Regions from separate parts of the Homo sapiens genome. Here region 1 is linked to region 2. Evidence: promoter capture Hi-C in 16 types of primary human blood cells and fetal thymus (Javierre and others, 2016). All regions are on one chromosome and are shown on one strand. Each heading gives the region's core, a stretch centred on a gene start or on the middle of the fragment in contact. The rest is flanking DNA. Distances are from core to core; before and after follow the strand shown.

Region 1 (5,506 bases), core at 1,630-4,129, 48 kb after region 2:
GGAGTGGGAAGGGCAAACATTTAAAATATTTCAGTAGAACTCATTTGTAAAACACTTTTACTTATCAGATCTATAGAAGAACCAGGGCTTTAGATTATTCAGTGTTAAGTAGGCTTCTGACAGAGCATCGAAGGCAATTTAAAATATAAATAAATGACCTAGTTGAATCATTAGTTGTGTATCAGCTGTGGATAAAATGGATGTTGTAGGGACATGGGAATTGAACAAGAAATCACCTTGCAATGGGATTTATTAAACAACAAAGATGGCATTATTGAGTTGACAAAGGAAAGATATTTCAAGAATCTTATGGGAATTTACAAAGATTGTTTTCACCTGGACCTGAGAGAGTCAGGGACTAGAAGTTGGGAAAGTCCTAATTTCAAAAAGCAGCAGGAAATATCAAATCAACTAATTCTAATAAGCACTCTTGGTTCTCTAATGCTATATTAGAAGCAACGGAGAACAAAATCCAAACATTCATCTCTGCTTCAAGTAATTTACAGTTATTTGGAAATATTAAACACCTATAAATAAAACAATTGGTGAAAAATACCACCAAATAAACCTCATGTTCAGTCAATTCTCAGAGACCATGGATGAACTAGACTTTAGTTAAAAACAAAAACAAACAAACAAACAAAACTGGTAATGTGCAGAATCAATCAAGCAAGTGTTCTTGCAGGAGACATGTCATGAACTTGACTTAGAATGAAAACTAAAATATTAATTGGCAGAAGAAAAAAAATGCACGGGGAAGGAAAACAGTGCAGCTTATTTGCCATGAAACAGGATATTTAGTTAGCAGTTTAGAAGAGCAAGACTGCCTTTCTAAAAATTTAACTTGATATAAAAGATAACGGGTCATTTTAATGTCAGGGGCAGAATTATGATTATTTGAAAGCAGTATTATGTAAGCATTTATTTAGATAGTTTGGAGAAGGGAGAAATTTAATACAGATCATTTAATGAAATGGATATAAGGAGATAATTTTGACTAAGTTACCAGAAATGTGAATGTGATTGTAATTAATTAAATGAGACATCCAAGTAACTGTCATTATGAATATTTTTATTTATTGAATACTAATAATATGATTATTCTCCTGTGCAGTCTATGTAGTAGACTGAATTTTTTTTTTTTTTCAGACAGAGTTTCACTCTTGTCACCCAGCCAGGAGTGCAATGGTACAATCTTGGCTCACAGCAACCTCCGCCACCTGGTTGAAGCGATTCTCCTGTCTCAGCCTCCAGAGTAGCTGAGATTACAGGCATGTGCCACCATGCCCTGCTAATTATATTTTCAGTAGAGGCGGGGTTTCACCGTGTTGGCCAGGCTGGTCTCGAACTCCTGACCTCAAGTGATCAGCCCACCTCCACCTCGCAAAGTGCTGGGATGAACAGTGAGCCACCATACCCAGCCGACTGAATTTTAGAAAATCAAAATTGATTACCTTTTTGTATATGGCTCATCCCTTCAGGGACCTTCACATGCTGTGGAAGGAGTATAACCCTCACTTTATCTACCAGAACCTTGGATACATGACTTTGTTCAATGTAATGTGACTAGAAGTATCATATGCCACACATGAGCAGAAGTTTTAAAAGTCAATGCGTGACTCCAGCACTGTTTATATATTTTATTTTTTAACTCATCAGGGTCTTAGGATAAATAGAATAAATACAAAGAAACATTGAGAGATAGACACACATGTGCGCGCGCGCGCGCGCGCACACACACACACACACACACACACACACACACGGGAGGAATACAGAATGATGAGATATTATATGTAAATATGGAGTACCAGCCAGACCCTAGCCATCTGATACACTCCAGGTGAGGCACAAGATATGTTAGGAAATCCGTTCTGAAAGTTCCAGTACCAGCGGAGCTCCCAGGTAAATAATGCAAGTGCATGAGTCTTTCCTACAGACCGGAGAGTGGCACCTTACATCTTTCTATTGTCAAAGTGGTTAAGCTGAGAACTACAGTTCCCAGAATTCTTTTCTACACGTCTTTCCGTATTGGAGTTGTCTAAAAATAAATGTGTTTGGAATTTGAAAAGCAGCCCAAAGCACCAGCCATTACTCTCTGATCTTTGTGGCTATACAGATGCAGAGGTGCCAACAGCTTCTAGCTTGTTTTGTTCTCAGCCACTTCACTCTGCGTCCACCTTTTTCCCAACTTCTGAATTGGAGGATCAACAGAAGCCTCAGGCTGCCTGCCTGCAGATCCTCAGAAGCAGCAACTGAACAAAAATTTTTCTACCAGCAAAATTTTCTAAATTTTGCTCCTTTCATGACCTCTACTTCATTGGCTAGATGGGCTTGGTTTCTCGATTGACTGGCTATTGCTGCCTCTGATTCTGCAGCTCCCTGTTTCATGTCTTTGCTTTCCTAAGTCCTTCCAGAATTGTTTAAGGTCTAATTCCTATGGTAAATGCCTTATCCTACAGTGCATGGTAGCTCTGCTTTCTAAGTTGAACTCTATTTCTTAACCTAAGTCAAAACTAACAATGTAGATAAAATCAGAGATGTTTTGATTTTATCCCTGACATTCCAACATGTCAATCCTATTGTCCCCTATCATCTCCCTCTCCTTAGAGGTAAATATATATATATATATATATATATAAATAGGTATATATATGTGTATATATATAAAAATAGGTATATATATGTGTATATATATATAAATAGGTATATATATGTGTATATATATATAAATAGGTATATATATGTGTATATATATATAAATAGGTATATATATGTGTATATATATATAAATAGGTATATATATGTGTATATATATATATAAATAGGTATATATATGTGTATATATATATAAATAGGTATATATATGTGTATATATATATATAAATAGGTATATATATGTGTATATATATATAAATAGGTATATATATGTGTATATATATATAAATAGGTATATATATGTGTATATATATATAAATAGGTATATATATGTGTATATATATATAAATAGGTATATATATGTGTATATATATATAAATAGGTATATATATGTATATATATATAAATAGGTATATATATGTGTATATATATAGATAGGTATATATATGTGTATTTATATATATATACACACACACACACACACATATATATACCTATTTAAATATATATGTGTATATTTAATATATTTAAATGTTCCTCCATGGGATTTTATTATTTTATATTCCTTCTGGCATTACCTCACTGTAGTGTCATCTAGAGCAGGTGTTCAAGCTGCTAGAATTTTGCTGCCTGATAGAAACATTTACCATATGATAGTTGATATGTGGTATCTCAATGAATTTCAACATATGTTCATATAAAAAAGAGTTTGAGCATCTTTTCTATAGAAAATAGCTATTTGCGCTTTTTTCCCATTTTATGCAGGGTTCTTGGTCTTTTTATTGTCTAATTTAATAGCTTTTTATGTACTGATATACCAGTGCTTTGTTTTTTTATCTCTCAGTGCAAATGAGGAGATTGAGATTTATGATAATGTGGTGATGTACTCAGTATAATATAATAAAGTCTTGTACTGTGATGTAAACTCAGGCCTCCAAATCTGAGATTCAATGTTCTTTATATTACACTAGAGGCATATAATGCAGTTTCATCAAGTTATTTCTTTTCATCTTATGAATACAAGCTCTGTGAAATATAGTCAAAACTTTCTTGTTAATAGAGAAATATTTAAGTATGGGTGGCATTTAAATTTTATTGATTGTTATTCTGATTTTTAGCAGATATTAAAATTTTGATGATTACTTCACATTCTTTACATAGTTAGAATTTATAAACCAGAATTTTTTCACTTTTCACTTTTTTCTTCCATTACTCCATAATGATTCAAGTGAATAGTACAAAATTTAAATTCTCGAACATTCATTTTATTATTTTCTGTATCAGTTTTTTTCCAAATGGGGATACACAGGCCTTATACTCATTTGTTAATGGAGGAACTGGGAGATAACACTTGTAGTCTCATAAGTCAAATAATAGATACTATTTGTCTTGTCTTTGCTGTGGTCCAAGATACGCGTTATTCTTTATATTTTCCCAGCCAATCACATCCATGTCCTGTACATGAAACATTTACGAGCAATCATGCATTCTGTAATTCACCTTTAAATATGGCCAAACCAACTAGAAAGTTTTAATAACTCCCACTGCAACTTGAACATTTGTTTATTCCCCAAGCAGCAGCTGGTCTTTTTCTTGCCATGTAATTCACAAAATTATTTCATATCAATACAACTGTCATAAATACAAAGGTCTCAAGGACTGTGAGCCTCCTTTCCCCAGAAATTAGGCAAGGGATTCACCTAACTTCACTGTGACGCAGTTGTCCCTGCTTTCAGGAGTTGGTTATTATATTACATGTGTGGAAAGGATCTTAAAATTATCTAGATCAACACCCCTATTTTACATATGAAGACTTGGAAGCATCGGTTGACTCAGTAAATTACTTGATCCCACACTCCTAGGACAAGATTTCAATTCCCATTTTCTGACTCTCAGGTCACTGTTATTTCTGGTACACCAATTTAAATGAGTGCTGTGCTAGAGACTTCTATTTAAAAATCAGGTAGGTGAGTACAAAAGAAATTTAAAAGTTTCTGGGATGGGTAAAGCTAGAAGAACAATGTGAAGGTTTTTTGTTTATTTGTTTTTCAAAGGCCACAGCATTTTTAATAGAAAGCGAAAGAACAATAGGTAGTTGAATGAGTAAATTGGGTTTGGTCTTAGAACAATTTGTTTAGAATATATAGTTGTAACAGAGGTTTGAGAAGAAAAGAAAAACAAATGCTTGGATTAGTAGAAAGATGAAAAAGTTTTGTTATGAATTTTGAGTACACATCATTTCAATTGGCTTTCAGTGCACTTTGTAAATCTCAGATCTCAGTGAGACAGAGATTTCCTTAATCAGCCAAGTTACAACTTTTGAGGTGCGTTATATTACATAACTTATAAATTCATTACTCTCTTCTGTCTGATGTAAACTTGTCTCAACAGTTGCTCCATGTAAACTCTGGAAACAGGAAGAGTGTTTTTTGTTTCAAACAGCTTCTGTGAAATCAATAATTTCTAGCATTTAAAAATTGCCTGGCTTCTGGCAGCATGGTATTTAACAGTCTTTCTATTTAAAATGTACTTAGAAATGTATGAGTACTTCAGGCTTTAACCAGAACATGTTCATTAGCCTCTGAAAAATGTATGGCATTGGTGACATACATCAAGTGTCATTCATAATATCTGCATAACTAAAATAAAGGACAAATAATTAGAGGTGATTTCACTTTTTTTTTTTTTTTTTTTTTTGAGGCAGAGTCTCACTCTGTCACCAGGCTGGAGTGCAGTGGCACGATCTTGGCTCACTGCATCCTCTGCCTCCCGGGTTCAAGCGATTCTCCTACCTCAGCCTCCTGAGTAGCTGGGATTACAGGCGCATGTCACCCTGCCCAGCTAATTT
Region 2 (5,420 bases), core at 2,639-5,138:
ATTATTAAAAAGTCAAGAAATAAATTTGAGTTTACCAAATGATAGCATTCACTTTATAAATGCTATCTTTTTTTTTTTTTTTTTTTTTTTTTTTGATACGGAGTTTTGCTCTTGTTGCCCAGGCTGGAGTGCAATGGCGCGATCTCGGCTCACCACAACCTCCGCCTCCCAAGTTCAAGCGATTCTCCTGCCTCAGCCTCCCGAGTAGCTGGGACTATAGGCATGTGCCACCATGCCCGGCTAATTTTGTATTTTTAGTAGAGAGGGGTTTTCTCTATGTTGGTCAGGCTGGTCTTGAATTCCTGACCTCAGGTTATCCGCCCACTTCGGCCTCCCAAAGTGCTAGGATTACAGGCGTGAGCCACCGCACCCAGCCCTATCATTTTTTATATTTTCAAGCATGTCATAGATGAATTTCACTTTAGTGCATAAATAGATGAAGCTACTGACTTTTTTTTATTCAACTGGCTCCTGATTTCTCTCATTAACATATTTGATGAGATGCTTCTGATTTTTCGATACCTTCAAAATACTTAAAAGTATCTGTATCTGTCAGAGTCTAGTCAGGAGACAGAACCCACATGAGTAATTTGAACAGAGAATACTTAATATAAAGAATTAGCAACTGGTAATAGGAATTAGCTACTACAAGGAGAATAAAAAGTAACTCTAAAAAAATACCCTAAGAGAGAACTGACATCTTTTACCATACTGTTTTTCTATTTATTAATATAGTGTCTATCTTCACTTATTTAAGTTTGATTTACTAATACACTCTTCATTACTACCTTTTGTTAAATTTTATAATTTTCTCTAAATGCACATCTTTAAATTTGTACATAAGCTTAGAGTATTTGTTGTTTTGCAAGTTACATTTTTTACATAAATAATTGTAATTTTTTGTTGACATATTTTTTCTTTTTCAACATTTATTTGTAAAAGATGTCATTCTCTATAAGTTAATAAATATGTTATATACAATGAATATAATAAATATCTTTGTATGTCAATTAACACATGAATCCAATGCAATTACAACAAAATCCTGAAATAATATTTTAAGAAATCTGACGAGCTGGTTGTAAAATGTTTATAGAACATAAAGGGGATAAACTAACAAAGACACTGAAAAATAAGAGATGAGAGAACTTAATCTATCAGACATCAAGATTTATTTTAAAACTGTAGTAAATTAAAACAGCGTAATATGGGTGCAGGGCTAAACACATGCATTAACGAAACAGAATAGAGTCTAGTAACAAATCCATACATACACTGAAGCTGAAAATGTAAGAGAGGTAGTATTGCAAATTGAGGGAAATAATGAACAATTAAATAAATGACACCAAGTCTGATTTCTACATATTTACAAATATATAAAAATAGATGCCTAGCTCCCAAAATGTACAAAATGAGTTACAAAGCGATGAAATTCTTAAGTATAAAAAGCAATATATGTTTTAATTTACAGAAGAAAATCTAAATAATGTCTTTATGATCTTGACAGAGAGAAGGATTTCTTAAATCAGACACATACACACAAAAAAAGATACCAAAAATGATTCACAAATCCAACCACATTAAATTTTCTAAAAATTATTACAAAGGCCATTTGAACAGCTGATAAATTTTACAACACTCTTGAAATGAAAAAATAAAATAGAGTGATGGGGAACAGATCATTGGTTGCCAGGGTTAAGATCACAGGGGAGACAGCACAGGAAAGTTTCTTTGAAGTGACGGAAGAGGTCTATGTCCTTATTGTGGCTGTTGTGACTACATGAATCTATTTATGCAATGATATTTCATAATACTATAAAGCAATAGTAAAAAAAAAAAGAGTACATGTAAAAACTGATTAAATCTGAATCTGAATCGTCTTCAGTTTACTTTGAAAAAAAAAAATACCATAGGCCTAAAGGAGAGAAACCAAAGAAGAAATAAATGTGGAAGGGTGATGCCCTGCCCAAGGTTGAGTTTCAGAACTCTTTGGAGAGAATATGAGTGAGGCCCCCTAGATGGAGAGAGGTTCTCTGGGTTGCACTGGACCAGATCTAGTCCACAGAAGGTGAAGTGAAGATGGGGATCAGAGAATTTAAGGCCAAGGCTGGCAATAAAACTTGCTGGAGGATGAGTACCACTGGGTGCCTGAACATAAGCCACTGGCAGCTGCACTGTAGGAACAAGAAGAGAAGTGGCACAAACGAAAATCTTGGTGTTGAAATAGTTCAGCTTTCTAGATTCTCCTCTCTTTTCTGCAACTCATAATCTAAAAGGAAATTGGAATTATCTAGCCAATCAGAGGCAGCCCTTTAAATGAAAGGTTTAAAATGGAAGCTTCTGAGTATGTATCATTCCATATTTTAAAGCATTTTAGCTATTTGAAAACCGTATGGGATAGGCATAATTGATTTTTGGGGGGGGGAGTCTCATAACCTAATAATCTCCACTTGAACTTAAGCAGTTATATTAAATTGTAGTTTGGCTATTCCCTGAAGTTGGCAAAATTCAGTTTCAGATTCTTAAATACTATTCATCCACATAGAAGTTTTAGGCATGTTGTTAAGAAAACTCTTAAAACCTGACAAATGTTTGAATGTATGCCCACCAGAGAATTAGGTTCTCATTGATTTTTTTCTTGATATTTACATTTACCCCGTAACAAAAGCAGTAAATGCATACATATTATCCATCTAGTGCCCATATTTTATTTCTAGAACCAGTAATCTAAACAGAGATTTTTCCATGTTTTTATATTTAACTTTCACTTGATACCTAGAAAAAGACTTGTTAATATTCATTAAATGTTCTCTATATTATCTTCTTCACTACTTTCCCCACAATTGAGATACACCACAAAAATACATTAAAATATTAAACAGTGTATTGACCTGAGGAATTTGAAGGAGTTTTGTCTTAATGAAAGGAAGTTCTCACTACTAGTGACATTTCAGAAATTCTCCTTGGCCTCAGGTAATGGTTCACAATTTTCCTTACGGCAGCCTTCATATCCCTATTCCTTAGTGTATAAATAATGGGGTTTAGGACGGGGGTGAAAACAGTGTAAAATATGGCAAGAAATTTATCCAAAGGAGAGATGGTAAAGGGCCACACATAGATGAAGATGCAAGGTCCAAAGAATAATATTACTACTGCAATATGGGAAGCCAGCGTAGAAAATGCCTTTGCCATTGCAGCTGAAGACTTGAGCCAAACTGTAACAAGAATAATGATGTAGGAGCTGACCAAGAGAGAGAAAGTGCTTAGGGAAAGAATTCCACTATTGACCACAATTAGTATTTCAATGATGTAAGAGTCCAGGCAGGCAAGTTTGGTGACTCGAGGAAGATCACAAAAAAAGCTGTCTACTACATTAGGTCCACAAAAAGGCAGGTTCACAGTAAATGATAACTGGCTTAATGTGTGCACCAAGCTCACAGCCCAGGAGATCATTACCAAGACAGTGCATGTCCTTCGGCTCATGATGACCACATAGTATAAGGGTTTGCATATGGCTACATACCTGTCATAGGCCATCGAAACAAGTAGCACCATCTCCCCTCCAGTAAAAAGGTGAATAAAGAAAATTTGGGCTATGCAGCCACTGAAAGATATGGTCTCGTGTGCACTCAGAAAATCTGCAATCATTTTAGGGGTAGCAAAAGAAGCCTGACAAATGTCAACAAAGGAAAGGTTTCCCAAGAGAAAGTACATAGGGGAGTGCAGGCTGGTATCAGAAGTCACTGTGAGGATAATGAGAAGATTTCCCAGCACAATGACTGTATACAACACAGAGAAGAAACAAAAATAGAAAAGCTGGAGTTTTTGAGAACTACAGAGTCCCAACAGTACAAATTCAGACACCACTGAAGAATTGGACTTATCCATGGTTCCAAGCTGCAAACTTGTTCTGAAACAACTCTAAAGGAGGATAAATAGAAAGGAATCAGAATTTGAATTAAGAATACTTTTAAGGTGAGGGATTCTGAGATCTCAGATATAATGTGCATTTGCTGAATGCAAAAATTTTGAAGAGGCCATAATAGTATGTCTGGATAGGTGGATAATAGGAAAGAACTTATGTAAATGTCTAAATAATGCTTAATAATTTAATCAGTATAATTAGAACCCCTTGAGTTTTTGGATAGTCCTTGTCTTTTATACAGTAGGAAATGAGCTTACCCAGGAGCTGACTCATGACAACAAGACTAGAGGAGTGACCTAGAGTCCAGCTCCACAAGCCTCATAGGTTGACAAAAAGTGTTTACATTTGCTTGTCTTGTGGTCATCTTACATCATCAATTATACAACATTCTTAACTTTTGAAGAGATATTCATGGCTTGATTATTATTACATGATGTAAAGTCACACAGATTAACTTTTGGCCAATTATTTTATCTGAGCTTTAATTCCACACCTTAAAAAAGATGGGAGGTATAAAAATACCTACTTTACAGAAAACTTTAGAGTTTAAGCAGAATAACTCATGACATTCTACCATCAAAGTAATTGTATTGCAACATATGATCTTAATACATTAAACACCCTATATTAATAGAAATTTACCTTCGTGCTCCTGCAGGAGTCATTTACAATTAGGCAATTCCTGCTAAACAGATACTATTGAATGTATATTATACTGGCCTATAGTTCCAACTGAGTTTGTCAATTAGTTATCCAATAATTTCTTAAAACACATATTATGGCTTACCTGAATTATCTAAATCCTATTTTCTGTTGATTATCCAAGAGTGGAACCTAAATTTTTCATTTTCTTTGCCTATCAGAATTAGATTTCAGCCCACTTACATTCTCCCTGCTAGAGTTCTCCATGATCTTCTTAAAACATCTTTATAATTAATGCTGGAAAATGAAGTTTAAAAAAAATTTCTGGATAGAGAAGTAAAAATGATTATAAACCTCTCATGCTCTTGAAAATATCTAAAAATTTGCATCGTATGTTTTTCACCCTGTAAAGACATACCCCTACTGTATAAATCTAGTTCAGTTGAACTGGAAAAACTTTAAAGAAGTGCTGTTTTAGGAAACCATATTAGTTCTGACAATTAACTGTTGACAACAGTCATAGTAAGAGGCCTGAGAGAGTAATGATCTAATTCTAGTCCCATGTGAGAACATGAACATCTTTTTCTGCTAATTTATTTCATACAAGAAGCCAGAGTCTTTCCTTTGTCTCTAGGCTACAGACCTAGTCTCTCATTTAGATGAATGCAGTTGCAATCCACACCGGGAAGCCCCACAGTAAACAATCATATTGTGTACTCTATTGGAAGAAGGTTCAGAGAAGCATTCCACTGGGCCACATTTTGGATATACATTATTGTAAACTCTGGAACTACGGCAAACAAAAAGATGACTCATTATAATTGTTTAAAGCATTAGTAACAACAAATCAGTG

The links. The method cuts DNA at HindIII sites, captures the fragments that hold promoters and counts their contacts. A CHiCAGO score of 5 or more calls a contact.
Region 1: a contact is called between a fragment that was not itself captured here and the fragment with the promoter of OR4K5 in region 2, in 3 of 17 cell types (neutrophils, fetal thymus and naive B cells). The highest score is 7.9, in neutrophils.

The regions. Positions count from the first base shown.
Region 1 is chr14:19,869,849-19,875,354 of GRCh38, reverse strand. It overlaps OR4K2 (olfactory receptor family 4 subfamily K member 2), which reads right to left and starts at 213. Exons shown (of 2, transcript NM_001005501.2): 1 at 1-213. The HindIII fragment of the contact is 5,805 bases long and covers 1-5,506 here.
Region 2 is chr14:19,919,075-19,924,494 of GRCh38, reverse strand. OR4K5 (olfactory receptor family 4 subfamily K member 5) reads right to left here and starts at 3,888. Exons shown (of 1, transcript NM_001005483.1): 1 at 2,917-3,888. The coding sequence starts at 3,888. The coding sequence ends at 2,917. The region is part of intron 2 of LOC124903278 (a long non-coding RNA gene); the gene reads left to right. It also overlaps a transcript of OR4K1 not described here. The HindIII fragment of the contact is 8,373 bases long and covers 2,340-5,420 here.